Regions from separate parts of the Homo sapiens genome. Here regions 1, 2, 3 and 4 are each linked to region 5. The links are contacts of gene promoters, found by promoter capture Hi-C in blood cells and fetal thymus (Javierre and others, 2016). All regions are on one chromosome and are shown on one strand. Each heading gives the region's core, a stretch centred on a gene start or on the middle of the fragment in contact. The rest is flanking DNA. Distances are from core to core; before and after follow the strand shown. Region 1 overlaps ERN1 (endoplasmic reticulum to nucleus signaling 1). Region 2 overlaps ERN1 (endoplasmic reticulum to nucleus signaling 1). Region 3 overlaps ERN1 (endoplasmic reticulum to nucleus signaling 1). Region 4 overlaps ERN1 (endoplasmic reticulum to nucleus signaling 1). Region 5 holds the start of CSHL1 (chorionic somatomammotropin hormone like 1).

The links. Contacts are between HindIII fragments. The CHiCAGO score rates a contact against its expected background, and 5 or more counts as called.
Region 1: a fragment that was not itself captured here is called in contact with the fragment with the promoter of CSHL1 in region 5 in 4 of 17 cell types (naive CD8 T cells, erythroblasts, total CD8 T cells and 1 more); the score reaches 6.3 in naive CD8 T cells.
Region 2: a fragment that was not itself captured here is called in contact with the fragment with the promoter of CSHL1 in region 5 in 13 of 17 cell types (naive CD8 T cells, total CD4 T cells, total CD8 T cells and 10 more); the score reaches 14.6 in naive CD8 T cells.
Region 3: a contact is called between a fragment that was not itself captured here and the fragment with the promoter of CSHL1 in region 5, in 6 of 17 cell types (naive CD8 T cells, total CD4 T cells, non-activated CD4 T cells and 3 more). The highest score is 8.8, in naive CD8 T cells.
Region 4: a fragment that was not itself captured here is called in contact with the fragment with the promoter of CSHL1 in region 5 in 7 of 17 cell types (naive CD8 T cells, total CD4 T cells, naive CD4 T cells and 4 more); the score reaches 12.9 in naive CD8 T cells.

Annotation. Positions count from the first base shown.
Region 1 is chr17:64,058,221-64,060,920 of GRCh38, reverse strand. It overlaps ERN1 (endoplasmic reticulum to nucleus signaling 1), which reads left to right. Exons shown (of 22, transcript NM_001433.5): 11 at 334-452. Among named protein-coding and RNA genes, the nearest start is that of ICAM2, 39 kb to the right of the region's middle. The HindIII fragment of the contact is 9,403 bases long and covers 1-2,700 here.
Region 2 is chr17:64,039,739-64,042,438 of GRCh38, reverse strand. ERN1 (endoplasmic reticulum to nucleus signaling 1) reads left to right here. Exons shown (of 22, transcript NM_001433.5): 22 at 1-2,700. Among named protein-coding and RNA genes, the nearest start is that of ICAM2, 20 kb to the right of the region's middle. The HindIII fragment of the contact is 3,607 bases long and covers 1-2,700 here.
Region 3 is chr17:64,094,184-64,096,883 of GRCh38, reverse strand. The region is part of intron 2 of ERN1 (endoplasmic reticulum to nucleus signaling 1); the gene reads left to right. Among named protein-coding and RNA genes, the nearest start is that of ERN1, 35 kb to the left of the region's middle. The HindIII fragment of the contact is 1,332 bases long and covers 686-2,017 here.
Region 4 is chr17:64,110,800-64,113,499 of GRCh38, reverse strand. All of the region lies in intron 1 of ERN1 (endoplasmic reticulum to nucleus signaling 1), which reads left to right. Among named protein-coding and RNA genes, the nearest start is that of ERN1, 18 kb to the left of the region's middle. The HindIII fragment of the contact is 944 bases long and covers 821-1,764 here.
Region 5 is chr17:63,909,953-63,912,652 of GRCh38, reverse strand. It overlaps CSHL1 (chorionic somatomammotropin hormone like 1), which reads left to right and starts at 1,395. Exons shown (of 5, transcript NM_022579.3): 1 at 1,395-1,466; 2 at 1,729-1,908; 3 at 2,118-2,233; 4 at 2,327-2,491. The coding sequence starts at 1,457. LOC112268204 (a long non-coding RNA gene) reads right to left here and starts at 733. Exons shown (of 3, transcript XR_002958148.2): 1 at 394-733. The HindIII fragment of the contact is 23,854 bases long and covers 1-2,700 here.

The DNA.
Region 1 (2,700 bases), core at 68-2,567, 150 kb before region 5:
AAGCCTCATCATACTTCACCTGTGGATCGGGCCCATGCAGCCCCACGAGCCTTGCGTCTGGTGCCTCCCAAATGTCCTGATCCCTGTCATGCAAGGATACTTCTTCACTCCTCAGTAGGAGACTTGGAATACTGTATTCTGCCATGAAGTAATAAGGGTCCTGCTTTGATGGAATTTTCTGGTAACTGCCACTCATTTTCTCTAACTCACAGTCCTGCTGAGAGTTTGCATTGTGGACCCCTCAGTGGGTAGCACCTGTTGCCTAAGTTTAGCATTGAGTGCCACCACAGCTCGGGAAATTGTTCTCACTAAAGGTTTTGTTTCCTGTCATAGGACACCATGAAACCCCACTGTCTGCGTCTACCAAGATGCTGGAGAGATTTCCCAACAATCTACCCAAACATCGGGAAAATGTGATTCCTGCTGATTCAGAGAAAAAGAGCTTTGAGGAAGTGAGTGAGGAAGCGACCAGTCGGGGGTTGTTGGTGTTAGGTGTTGGGAGGGTGAGGCATTAGACTTTGACTCTGCCTTCTGAGCTTGCAGCCTAGTCTGGGAGGGAAGAGGAATGCACCAGAATCCAAAGCAAAAAACATAAATGGTTAAGGGCTAGTGGAGAGGAATAGGAAGCAACTTGTGAAAGAAGGTGCAGGAAAGGCAGCAGGACCAAGCTAGGCCTGGACCTGGATGAATGGGTAGGATTTGGCCAGGTGGAGGGAGCAAGAGGGCACAGGAGGGAATGGAACAGCAAGGGCAAAAGCCTGGAGTGGGAAGAATGCTGGTGTGCCCAGCTCACAGGCTGTGGGGAGAAAGGCCTGGCCAGACCCGAGGCTACTAAGTAGGGGGTAGTAGGAAATGGGCTCACATGGGTAAAAAGGAACCATGTTACAGGGCCTGAAACAAGCCCTGTGGAGGAGTTTAAGAGTTGTTGAAGGCTGGGTTGGGTGTCTCACACCTGTAATCCCAGTGCTTTGGGAGACCAAGGCAGGAGGATCGCTTGAGCCCAGGAGTTTGAGACCAGCCTGGGCAACATAGCAAGACCCTATTGCTAAAAAAAAAAAAAAAAAAAAAAAAATTGTTGAAGAAGTGATGAGATCTGAAGTTTTATGAAGCAGACAGAGAGTGGCCTGGGACTATTTGCACAGAGTTCCAGGGGCTCTCTTAGCACACCTTGGCCTAAAGCCAGAGGAGAGGGAGTAGAAAGGACTCTAGACCGGGAGCTGAAAGCATCAGTTGAGGAATTCAGCAGCCCCACAGAAGTCAACCTCTTTCTCTTACCTCTCTCTCTCATCTGCTGGTGTCCCCTGTTAGCTTTACCCAGTCAAAAACCCCAGGGGGTTGGGGAAGCCATTGCTTTGGCCCATACAGGTCAGCCTTCTGGGGCACAGAGCCGGTGGAGGAGGTGGAAGGGTGGCTCTGCAGGAGGGAACCCAACATGGCCAGGGAAGGGGAAGAGGGGACGTCTGAGGCTTAGTGACCGATTCAGGCCTGGCAGCTTCAGCAGCCCTGCCATGGAGGGCCCAGGGACAGAGATGCACCTGGGCTACATGAGTAGGGTCAGAAGAAGAAGAGAATGGCTGACTGATGCCGAGACCAAAAGCACAACAAACTCAGTTGAGAGATTTAGATTTTATCCAGAGACAAAGGAAATTGTAGACTTTCAAGATTCCAGGGCACAGTATCTGTTTACCATCATCTACGGAAGTAGCCAGGTTGGAGAAATACATTGATTCCTAAAACAGCAATCTTAAACAGCATTGTCCTATAATCTTATTAAAGTCCTGCATATTCATTATTGAACACTTAGAAAATAAACACATACAGAAGAAAATAAGACAGTGCCCTTAATTTAACACCCAGAGGTAGCCACGTGTCAAATCTTTGTATTTAACCATCTGGTCTTGGATAACGGTCTTTGAAAAAGTATGTTTTAAAATACTCTCAGGTGCATCTGTATGGTGATGAGACATACAGATGTCCCTGGCCACATGCCCAGGTGCTTCCTATATACTCTGCAGGCTACAAACCCCCAAAAATGTGGGAGGCACTGTGGGAGAGGCATGAATAAGAGGGGTACACCTGGAGGGGAGAGAAGAACATTCTAGGCAGCCATCTGGGGGGAGGGGTGAAATGGCGTGAGCGTGTGGGAGGTTTAGCATGTGGGAAATTCAGCATGTGCCAGGGAGGCTGTGTTAGTTTTGTTGGGCAAATGATAACGGCATACCTAGAATACTAGATATTTGAAAGTGAGTCAATGCATTTTTCTAAATGCCTGTTCCGTGAAGTCTTAGAGATTCTGAGGAACTCTAGGGAAGCTCCATTTTTATCTGATTTAATTTTGGGCTTCTAAATTTTCTTTAACAAACGCTTCTGATGCTTCTTAAAAACTTTGAAGAAATAGTGGACTACTGGAATAAATTATAATTTTGGGATTGCACTGACAGTTTACAGGCAACACGAGAAAACTGCTTTATTGCTTTCTAGCCATGTGCCTCTGTATACGTGCGGATTTCCTTTTAATGTGAAATGGTATTATTAAATCAAATACCAATTTTTCACCAGACTTTGTTACAGATGACTTCAGTGTTTTCCTGGATACTGAACCTACCATCAAAGGAGGAAGTGTTTGCCTTTTTGAGGATTTTTGAAAAAAATATGTAGGGTCTGAAGACACCTGCCAAAAGTATTGCTCCAAAAACTATT
Region 2 (2,700 bases), core at 117-2,616, 130 kb before region 5:
GATGTTTTCTGTTTGTGTATTTGTATCATGGTTACTCATCAAAAGCTCTCATTCTGCCTTTGTAGAATTCAGTTCCCTTCCTTTCATCATAGCTAAAGTGACTTTTTTCCCTACTATTAACGTGATCCTACATCCTTAAATCTCATCGATTACCTCACTTAGGCCTTGGAACCTTGGCCCTTGGTCGGTGTCCTTGGCGTCTTCTAAGCAAGGCTGTGCGTTGTTCAGAAACGTGGCCAGACCGCATTTCCTGCTGCTCCCATGCCGCATGCCAGGTGGCCTGAGACAGAGCTCCCCATACGGCTGCAAGGTGCTTTACCTGTGGGCTTTGGCAGTAACCCAAGAGAGGATCAGAAGGTGGAGAAGGTGCCACGAGTGATTTAACAGGCCTGCCACAGGGAGTGCCCCCAGCCCAGCTCGTTCTCAGCACAGGTTTTCTCTTTGGGAGTACCCAGGTGATTTCTAGTGACCCAATTTTGTGTCATCTCCCTGTTTTAGCCCCACTTGCCTAGAGACAACTGTTTCCGATGCCTTTTCTGCTTATCATACTAGTTTCTAACCACGCAGATTTCTCAAAATCATTTATTCAATGTATTTTATTTGAGCACTTAGTGTATTGAGCTAGGCAGGATATAGGGTGCCGGAGATACAGCGATGAACAAGACAGGCAAAACTTCTGCTTTCCTAAAACTTGTGATGAGAGAGAACAATAAAAAAGTGTTGCTGCCACAAAGAAACCAAAGTGTGTGGGGAAGGGCGCGTGTTTGCGGTTTACATCTCTTCTGTCCCAGAATCACAGGGATCTGGTCCGGTCACCTCTGGTCTTTCCTCTTAGTCGCCTTTAGGAGCCCTGGTTCCCGTCCATCCTCTGGGGGGTTTGTTTGAAGAGATCTCGTGTGGGTACTTGTCATGAAAACACCTTGGGCATCATCTGGTGTATCCAGTTCTAGTCTCGAGAATTCTGGTTTCCCACTGTGCTCAGCAAGTGGAAAGTTCTTTTCAGGCCAGAACAGCTCTGCACCATCACATATCGTGTTGCGGCTTAGCTGTTTGGTCTGTAGTTCAGGTTATGGGACTTCTCCAATCCTGGAAGGCTGTTGAGCTTTTTAGAAGTACTGTACGCTATCTTCAAGATGGAGCTTGGTCACATCTGTTAGGAATCCAAAGGACACTATGACTTATTTAAATCTTGTCTTACTAAACCTCTCTTGGGCACGTGTGCCAGAATTTCTCTTGTTGCTTCTTGAGTCTTTTTAATTTCAGTGTTTTTTCGTTTGTTTTTTGTTTTTTTGAGACAGAGTCTCGCTCTGTCACCCAGGCTGGAGTGCAGTGGCACGACCTCAGCTCACTGCAACCTCCGCCTCCTTGGTTCAAGCAATTCTCCTGCCTCAGCCTCCCGAGTAGCTGGGATTACAGGTGTGTGCCACCACGCTCGGCTAATTTTTTATATTTTTTTTAGTAGAGACGGGGTTTCCCCATGTTAGGCAGGATGGTCTCGATCTCCTAACCTCGTGATCCGCCTGCCTCAGCCTCCCAAAGTGCTGGGATTACAGGCTTGAGCCACCGCACCCGGCCTAATCTCAGTTTTTGAAGTGCTCCACAAGTCATTAGGCACCAAAACATTTTCACCTGGGGAACACTGGCATTTCCCTGATTAGCTGTGAAGCAATCTAGTGGCTAAGTGTGAAATCCTGGGTGCGCAGGTGTTCTCACTCCCGCCGTGTTCTCAGTGCAGTGGTGGTCAGAGGCCCTTCCAAGGAGACATCACTCTGATCAGTTACAGATAGATGTTCTGGAAGATCTGCAGGTGAGTAGATCCAGCAGAGTTTCTTCCCACCAACTCTAGAAGAAAGGGCCTTATCAGAGTTGACCCTGAGCCTTTGGTAAGGTTTTGTGTGCATGCGATTCAGTTATCTTTGGCAATTCTTTTCTTGCTGCAGTGAGAGATTAATTGGTTGCTGATCAAACCGTTCATGCAGATGGGGGGACCTTTGGATTGTACGGCTTTCTCCTCTTGGCTGCTTTCTTTTCAGGAAGTTGGACTTTGGCCAGGTTTGGCTTTCCCAGAGCCGTTCCTTTCTCTGTCCTTTCCTTGGGTCCTCATGGTGTGCCCATTGGATCCTTGGCCTTGTGATCCTCTGGGAACTGGGGGCCAGTTCCACTTTTGCAGCCTTCTGTGCTGGAAGAGAAGCCCAGCGCCCTGGAAGGAGCCTCTTTAAGTCCCCCATGTCGCTTTCTCTCTCTGCTCTTTTAGTGTCTGAGATTGCCTTTCTTTGAATTTCCCAGTGTTTCTTTTCCTTGTCCCTTCCCTCACCAACCTGGAGTTATTTTGGTTGACTATGTCCTGGCTTTGGCTTCTCCTGGCAGGAAGTCATCAGGCATCCTCTCCAGGTGAGCCGAAATTCCACCCTCCCAGGTTGGACATCATCTTTTAAACCCAATGGTCTACTCCCCTCCTTCTTTATGAAACAGTGATTTCCCGTGAGTAACTCTGGTTCTGATTTTTTGTACCGGCGCTTAAATTCTTTCTGTAGACGTTGGAAAGCCACAAAGAACGTGACTGCAGTGAGCCTCCCACTGGAGCAGCCTTAACCAACACTTTGGCCAAAGCCCCCCCACCTCCCCTGTGTACTGTGTGTGTGTTTGGTGGATACAGTATTCCTTTTCAGTGTCCCTAAAGCTGTGATGGGGAGTCCCCAC
Region 3 (2,700 bases), core at 102-2,601, 180 kb before region 5:
CATCTTCACCCTGAGCCACTTCATTCTGCTTTGCTTTTCCCTGCACATAATGCTTTAAGTTGGTTTTTTCCAAGTCTTCATTTCTGCAAGTAATGTCATCTGTATGCAACAAAACTGTGTCCTCTCCGTTACTTAGTCAAACATAAGAATTAACCTGTTTTCTCTTCTAACTTAGAGCTGAAAGAATTTGCCTCTTTTTAACTCAATTGAATGTGTATTTAGAGAACCTAGAATGTGAGAGATACTGTATAGCAGCAGTGCCCAACCTTTTTTGCATCAGGGACCAGTTTCGTGGAAGTTTTTCCATGGACCGGGGGAGCAGGGGCAGGGAATGTTTTGGGATGACTCAAGTGCATTACATTTATTGTGCACTTTATTTCTATAATTATTACTACATTGTAATGTAGAATGAAATAATTATACAACTCACCATAATGTAGAATCAGTAGGAGCCCTGAGCTTCTTTTCCTGCAACTAGACAGTCCCATCTGGGCGTGATGGGAAACAGTGACAGATCATCAGGCATTAGATTCTCATAAGAAACATGCCACACTACACTTGCATGCGTAGTACACAATAGGGTTCACACTCCTATGAAAATCTAATGCTGCCACTGATCTGACAGGAGGTGGAGCTTAGGCAGTAATGCCAGTGACAAGGAGCGGCTGTAAATACAGATGAAGCTTTGCTTGCTCACTCACTGCTCACCTCTTGCTGTGTGGCCCAGTTCCTAACAGGCCACAGACCCATCCACAGACCAGTATGGGTCCACAACCTGGGGGTTGGGGACCCCTGTTCTGTAGGACCCCAAAATGAAAAAGGCAGACCTTGTCCTCAAGAAGCCCATGATCTAAACCCATGGTGAAAATATGAGAACACAGGACTTCAACACAGCCGAGTCCTGTAACCACTCATGAGAGGGACTAGTAATGTGCTGTGAGCCCACATCCATTTGGAGGGCAGGAGGCTCTGTGAAGTGGGGTGTCAGAGGTAAACCCTGGTGAATGAATTGAGTTCAGTCAGGAGTGAGGCCTGGAGAAGAGCGAAGGAGGCAGCAGGTCTAGGGTGCAGGAGCTTATCCCGTTTAGCAGGAGCTTAGCGTTTCCAGGTAGAGGGAGGGAGGATTACAAGGGGATGTTGAGCCTTACTGGATGGAGCACTTAGGCATTTGTATCTGACTGAACAGGAAATTGGGAGCTGTTAATGTGATTGAACAGGTGAGTGACTCAACAGGTGCTCGCTTTTCGATGACTCTAGCAGCTGTGTGTGGGATGACTAGAAACAGGAAGCAGACCTGGAAAGGGAGGAGGGATGGGAAGGGTGAGAGGCAAGCCAGAAATAGAATCAGTAGAATCTAGTGACTGACTAGGGAGGAGGAGTTACAAGACACTTAAAGAAGAATTAGATAAATCCAATTAAGGTCTAATAATTTCTTTTCTTTTCTTTTCTTTTTTTGAGACAGAGTTTCCCTCTGTTGCCCAGGCTGGAGTGCAATGGTGCGATCTTGGCTCACTGAAACCTTTGCCTCTTAGGTTGAAGTGATTCTCATGCCTCAGCCTCTTGAGTAGCTTGGATTACAGGCATGCGCCACTATGCCTGGCTAATTTTTGTATTTTCAGTAGAGATGGAGTTTCACCATGTTGGCCAGGGTGGTCTCAAACTCCTGGCCTCAAGTGATCTGCCTCTCAAAGTGCTGGGATTAAAGATGTGAGCCACTGTGCCCAGCCTAATAATTTCCAGTAGTATTCATGATGATCTGTTTTTCTAAGAATAAACTGGCATGTTTTAGTTCAGCCCTGGATACCAGTGGCCTTGACTTATATTTCTATACAAAGATTAAAGATGGTAATGTGCAGATACCCTGAGTTTTCAGTTTAATCTTGTGGTTATAACTGAAGATTTCAACATTTTTCTAAATTGTTAAATATAGATAAATGATAAAGGTATCCAGATGCTACTCTAGGTCCTGAGGATACAGCAAGTGAACAAAACAGGCAAACCCTTTTATCATAAAGCTTTCATTCTAGTGGGAAAACAGGAAATCAGTTACTTAGTAGTGACGAGAGGTTTGAAGAAAAAATGAAGTGGGGACATGGAATGGGCAGTACCAGGTTGGGGTGGGAGTCTGCAGTTTTAAACAGGGAGGGCTCCACGGAGAAGGTGTCATTTGAGCAAGAGCTCAAGGAGGCAAGGGAGTCTTGTAGACAGCCGGCATAGCGGGTCAAAGGTGGAGTGTCCTTAAAAAAAAAAAAAAAAAGAAAGGATGGGAGTGTCCCTGGCACGGTAGAGGAGGAGCACAGAGTTGATGTGGCGGGAGGAGATCAGCTCAGAGAGAGATGGGCCAGTCATACAGGGCAGGAGGGACCCAGCGCTTCCTTTACTTCACATGTACTATAAAGTTGCTTACTGAAACAAAATTTATAGTCAGTAAACTACGTATACACAGTTTCAAAAAGAAATAAACATATTACCGAACTGGTAATCTAAAACAAATAATAGGAAAGTATTTTTTTAATCACATAGATATAGCATGTAAATGCTCGGACACACGCTGACACTCCCCCCAGGAACAAATGCTGTGCCTGTTGATGCAGATGGAGACAAGTGCAGGATAGTTTACCACCATAGCCACGGCAACTGGATTTCCAGGACGGTGAACTGTTCTTGGTAGTGTTTCAAACAAAAGAAGTACAGCCTTAC
Region 4 (2,700 bases), core at 43-2,542, 200 kb before region 5:
CAAAATGCTCTGGAAAAATAAAGTGTTAGATACCAGGGAGATTTGGCCATAGCTGGAAATGTTTAACTCTGCGAATACTTGGAGCCACTAATTATGTATACTTGTTTTATTCATAATTTGTAATGGTCTAGGATAGCAAAAGTAATGTGAATCATGGTTGAATTTAATAAAATGTTTTTAACCTCATCCTAAAATATCCACTGATCCATCTCATTCAATGGCAATATGCAGTGGTTAAGGGAACATAAAAACAAACATCCACACAGCTGCACAGTTCTCATGAAAGTCTATCTCATTATTGGTGGGGGTAGCACATTTAACAGCTTAAACATATAGGTCACTGCATGATGCCGCACTGGTAACTAGATAGCCAGGGAACCAACTAACCAGTAACTGTTAAAATATTTAAAATACAGCTTTTGTTTAGATCATCCTTTGGATCACCTTCTTGGGAAAAAAGCCTGCTAGTCACAGTGGAAATATATTAAGGCCCGATCTTCTGATATCCATTCCCAGAGGTTTCTTTCAGCTAGATTAAGCCTCCACCTCCAGAGCACACCCAAGTTTGTGATCTCCAGCATTGATGATCTCTTGTCTACCAGAGCAGACAGTGTGAGCCTCACACCAGGCCTCAGAGTCTGTGTGTAGCCCACTCCAATTAGACTAGAGTTGGTGACTTTTGCATTTACTGGTTTATGATAAAGGATACAGATGAAGAGACGCATAGGGCAAGGCATGCGGGAAGGGGCATGGAGATCTCATGCCCTTGGGGTATGCCCCACCCATCAGGAATCTCCATGTGTTCAGCTGTGCAGAAGCTTTTCCCAACAACTTTTTAAAGTTAATTAGCATTATCCCCATTTTATGGATGAGAAACTGAAGGCACAGAGAGGTAAGTGATTGCCTGAGGTGGTCTGGCTCCACAATCTACCTTTTTAACAACCACATTATACTGCTCAGGAACTACACTGAACTTAACAAGTATCTATTGAATCGTTTAGCCGCAGCATCATAGGTGAGTTTCCAAATGATGGAAATACAATCCCATAACTTAAAATATAGTAATGTTTACTGACAACCTCCTCAGCAGTTATACTCTGCTTCCTTCTTCTTCTTCTTTTTTTTTTTTTTTGAGACAGAGTCTCGGTCTGTCGCCCAAGCTGGAGTGCAATGGTGCAATCTCAGCTCACTGCGCTGTCCACCTCCTGGGTTCAAGTGATTCTCCTGCCTCACCCACTCGAGGAGCTGGGATTACAAGCATGTGCCACCGTGTCCGGCTAATTTTTGAGTATTTAATAGAGATGGGGTTTTACCACGTTGGCTAGGCTGGTCTTGAACTCCTGACCTCAAGTGATCTGCCCACCTTGGCATCCCAAAGTGCTGGGATTACAGGCATGAGCCACTGCTCCCGGCCACTGCTTCCTTCTTGAACACCACGAGCCAAACATATTTTAACTCTTCCTTAATTATTCCTGATTGTCTCCTAGCACCAGTTGTTACATTATTGCTGTCTGCCCATGAGGGTAAGAGATGAGGAGCAATGGAGGTAAGAGATGAGGAGCAGTGGATTATCAGGTTTTTGAGTTTGGTTTACTTCCTGATGATTTCTTTGGCTGCCACCAATTTTTTTTTAAATTAAATAGTCTCCCTTAATATTTGTATAACTCTTACTTTTGAAATTCTCAATATTTGTTTTGCTTTCTTAGTGTTTAGAGAGATGTTGCTATTCTTCAGTTTTTAAAAGAAAAAACAAATGTGGAAGCTTAGCCACCTTGCCCCACAATCCAGATGCCCAGGTCCACTTCTGGGACCTAGAGAAGATGGCAATAAGATTGGATGACCTGGCCGGGCGCGATGGCTCATGCCTGTAATCCCAGCACTTTGGGAGGCTGAGGTGGATGGATCACCTAAAGTCAGGAGTTTGAGACCAGCCTGGCTAACATGGTGAAACCTCGTTTCTACTAAAAATACAAAAAATTAGCTGGGCATGGTGGCATGTGCCTGTAATCCCAGCTACTCGGGAGGCTGAGGCAGGAGAATCGCTTGAACCCAGGAGGTGGAGGTTGCCGTGAGCCGAGATTGCGCCATTGCACTCCAGCTTAGACAACAAGAGTCAAACTCTGTCTCAAAAAAAAAAAAAAACATTGGATGACCTCCAGGCTAGGCGGAAGCCTGACCAGGGTAGTGACTTTAGAAAGAGAGATTCCTGGGAAAACTGAGAATGACAGCAGAGAATATCCTTTATAGGATCATTATAGCCATTCCACAATGTGTACATATATCAGAACATCATGTTGTATACCATAAGTATATATAAATTTTATATGTCAATGTAAAAAATAAAAACAAACTTTTAAAAAATATTTTATAATATGGTCCCTTGTCCATTCCTGCCTGGGACAGCCATTTTTCCCTTTTCACGAGGGAGTTCTTCCTTTGATGTCTGGAAAGGCCTCCTCTTTGAGCCCATAGGTTTGCTATCTTCTGGCTGGTAATTCTTTCCTGCTTCTGTTTCCTGCCGACCACTTGATAAGCTGGAGAAAGCAACGTTGTTCGCTCTTGGCCGGTTCCTCATGCTTTGCCCCTTTTTCTGAGTCCTGTTTTCGAGCCTCAACTCGGAAGGTTTGGTTGTGCCAGCACAGTCTTCCCAGCAGTTTCTTGTGCTTTCCAATCTCTATTCAAACGTGTGAGGCTGCATAA
Region 5 (2,700 bases), core at 146-2,645:
CCAGGCTGGAGTGCAGTGGCGCGATCTTGGCTCACAGCAACCTCTGCCTCCTGGATTCAAGTGATTCTACCACCTCACCCTCCGGAGTAACTGGGATTACAGGCTTGCGCCACCACACACAGCTACTTTTGTATTTCTAGAGAGTTGGTGTTTTGCCATGTTGGCTAGTCTGGCCTTGAACTCCTGACCTCAAGTGATCCACCCACCTCAGCCTCCCAAAGTGCTGGGATTACAGGCATGAGCCACCGTGCCCGGCCTGGAGAAAGGACTTTAAATGACACAAAGTGGGAAGAGCAAGGCTGTGGAGATCTGCTGCCCTGGCTGAGGTAGCTCATGCAATCAGTCTCTCTGAGCCTCAGTCTCCTGATATGTGAAATGGGATGATAATCATACCTCCTACACAAGACAAGTGGCAGGTCAGACGTGAGAATGCACAGGCAGGCCCTTCGCAACTGGATAGGCTCTATACAGGTGTGGAAAGGAGGAGGAGAAAAAAGAGGACGGGCTTCCATGGATGGATAGGGCATCTTTCGGCGTGATGTGTTTTGAGTTCCAAAGCTGGGGAAGAGATTCAAATCTTCAAGAGCTCTTCCAACTTTGAGATTCTCTGATGGTTTCAGGGCTATGGGAGGAAGCGCTTGTGGTCCGTGTCTGTTCCCGGGATTTCGGTTTCTTGGTTTGTGTCTCTGCTGCAGGTCCAGGGAGCTGGGGCAATACCTTGAGAGTCTGAGTTCTTCGTCCCCAGTGACCTGGGGGAGCCCCCCACCCAACCCCCTCCCTCCGCCCCGCCCCAAGGCTCAGGGAAAGGGGAGATCAAAGTGTGGGGTTGGTTCCCTCTAGTGGTCAGTGTTAGCACTGCATCCAGCTGACTCAGGTGGGCCCAGGAGTCGTCAGCAGAAGTGGAATTCAGGACTGAATCATGCTCACAACCCCCACAATCTATTGGCTGTGCTTGGCCCCTTTTCCCAACACACACATTCTGTCTGGTGGGTGGAGGTTAAACATGCGGGGAGGAGGAAAGGAATAGGATAGAGAGTGGGATGTGGTCGATAGGGGTCTCAAGGACTGGCTATCCTGACATCCTTCTCCGCATTCAGGTTGGCCACCATGGCCTGCTGCCAGAGGGCACCCACCTGAACCTTAAAGAGAGGACAAGTTGGGTGGTGTCTGTGGTTGACACTCTGTGCACAACCCTCACAACGCTGGTGACGGTGGGAAGGGAAAGATGACAAGCCAGGGGACATGATGCCAGCATGTGTGGGAGGAGCTTCCAAATTATCCATTAGCACAAGCCCGTCAGTGGCCCCATGCATAAATGTGCACAGAAACAGGTGGGGGCAACAGCGAGAGAGAAGGGGCCAGGGTATAAAAAGGGCCCACAAGAGACCAGCTCCAGCATCCCAAGGCCCGACTCCCCGCACCACTCAGGGTCCTGTGGACAGCTCACCTAGCGGCAATGGCTGCAGGTAAGCGCCCCTAAAATCCCTTTGGGCACAACGTGTCCTGAGGGGAGAGGCGGCGCCCTGCAGATGGGACGGGGGCACTAACCTCAGGTTTGGGGCTTCTGAATGTGAATATCGCCATCTAAGGCCAGATATTTGGCCAATCTCTGAATGTTCCTGGTCCCTGGAGGGATGGAGAGAGAGAAAAAGAAAACAGCTCCTGGAACAGGGAGAGTGCTGGCCTCTTGCTCTGCGGCTCCCTTCTTGCCCTCCGGTTTCTCCCCAGGCTCCCGGACGTCCCTGCTCCTGGCTTTTGCCCTGCTCTGCCTGCCCTGGCTTCAAGAGGCTGGTGCCGTCCAAACCGTTCCCTTATCCAGGCTTTTTAAAGAGGCTATGCTCCAAGCCCATCGCGCACACCAGCTGGCCATTGACACCTACCAGGAGTTTATAAGCTCTTGGGGAATGGGTGCGGGTCAGGGGTGGCAAGAAGGGGTGACTTTCCCCCACTGGGGAAGTAATGGGAGGAGACTAAGGAGCTCAGGGTTGTTTTCTGAAGCGAAAATGCAGGCAGATGAGCATAGGCTGAGCCAGGTTCCCAGAAGAGTAACAGTGGGAGCTGGTCTCCAGCATAGAAAGCAGTGGTCCTTCTTGGTGGGGGGTCCTTCCCCTAGGAAGAAGCCTATATCACAAAGGAACAGAAGTATTCATTCCTGCATGACTCCCAGACCTCCTTCTGCTTCTCAGACTCTATTCCGACATCCTCCAACATGGAGGAAACGCAGCAGAAATCCGTGAGTGGATGCTGTCTCCCCTAGGCGGGGATGGGGGAGACCTGTGGTCAGAGCCCCCGGGCAGCACAGCCACTGCCGGTCCTTCCCCTGCAGAACTTAGAGCTGCTCCACATCTCCCTGCTGCTCATCGAGTCGCGGCTGGAGCCCGTGCGGTTCCTCAGGAGTACCTTCACCAACAACCTGGTGTATGACACCTCGGACAGCGATGACTATCACCTCCTAAAGGACCTAGAGGAAGGCATCCAAATGCTGATGGGGGTGAGGGTGGCACCAGGGGTCCCCAATCCTGGAAGCCCACTGGCTTCGAGGGCTGGGGGAGAGAAACACTGCTGCCCTCTTTTCAGCAGTCAGGCGCTGACCCAAGAGAACTCACCTTATTCTTCATTTCCCCTCGTGAATCCTCCAGGCCTTTCTCTACACCCTGAAGGGGAAGGAGGAAAATGGATAAATGAGAGAGGGAGGGAACA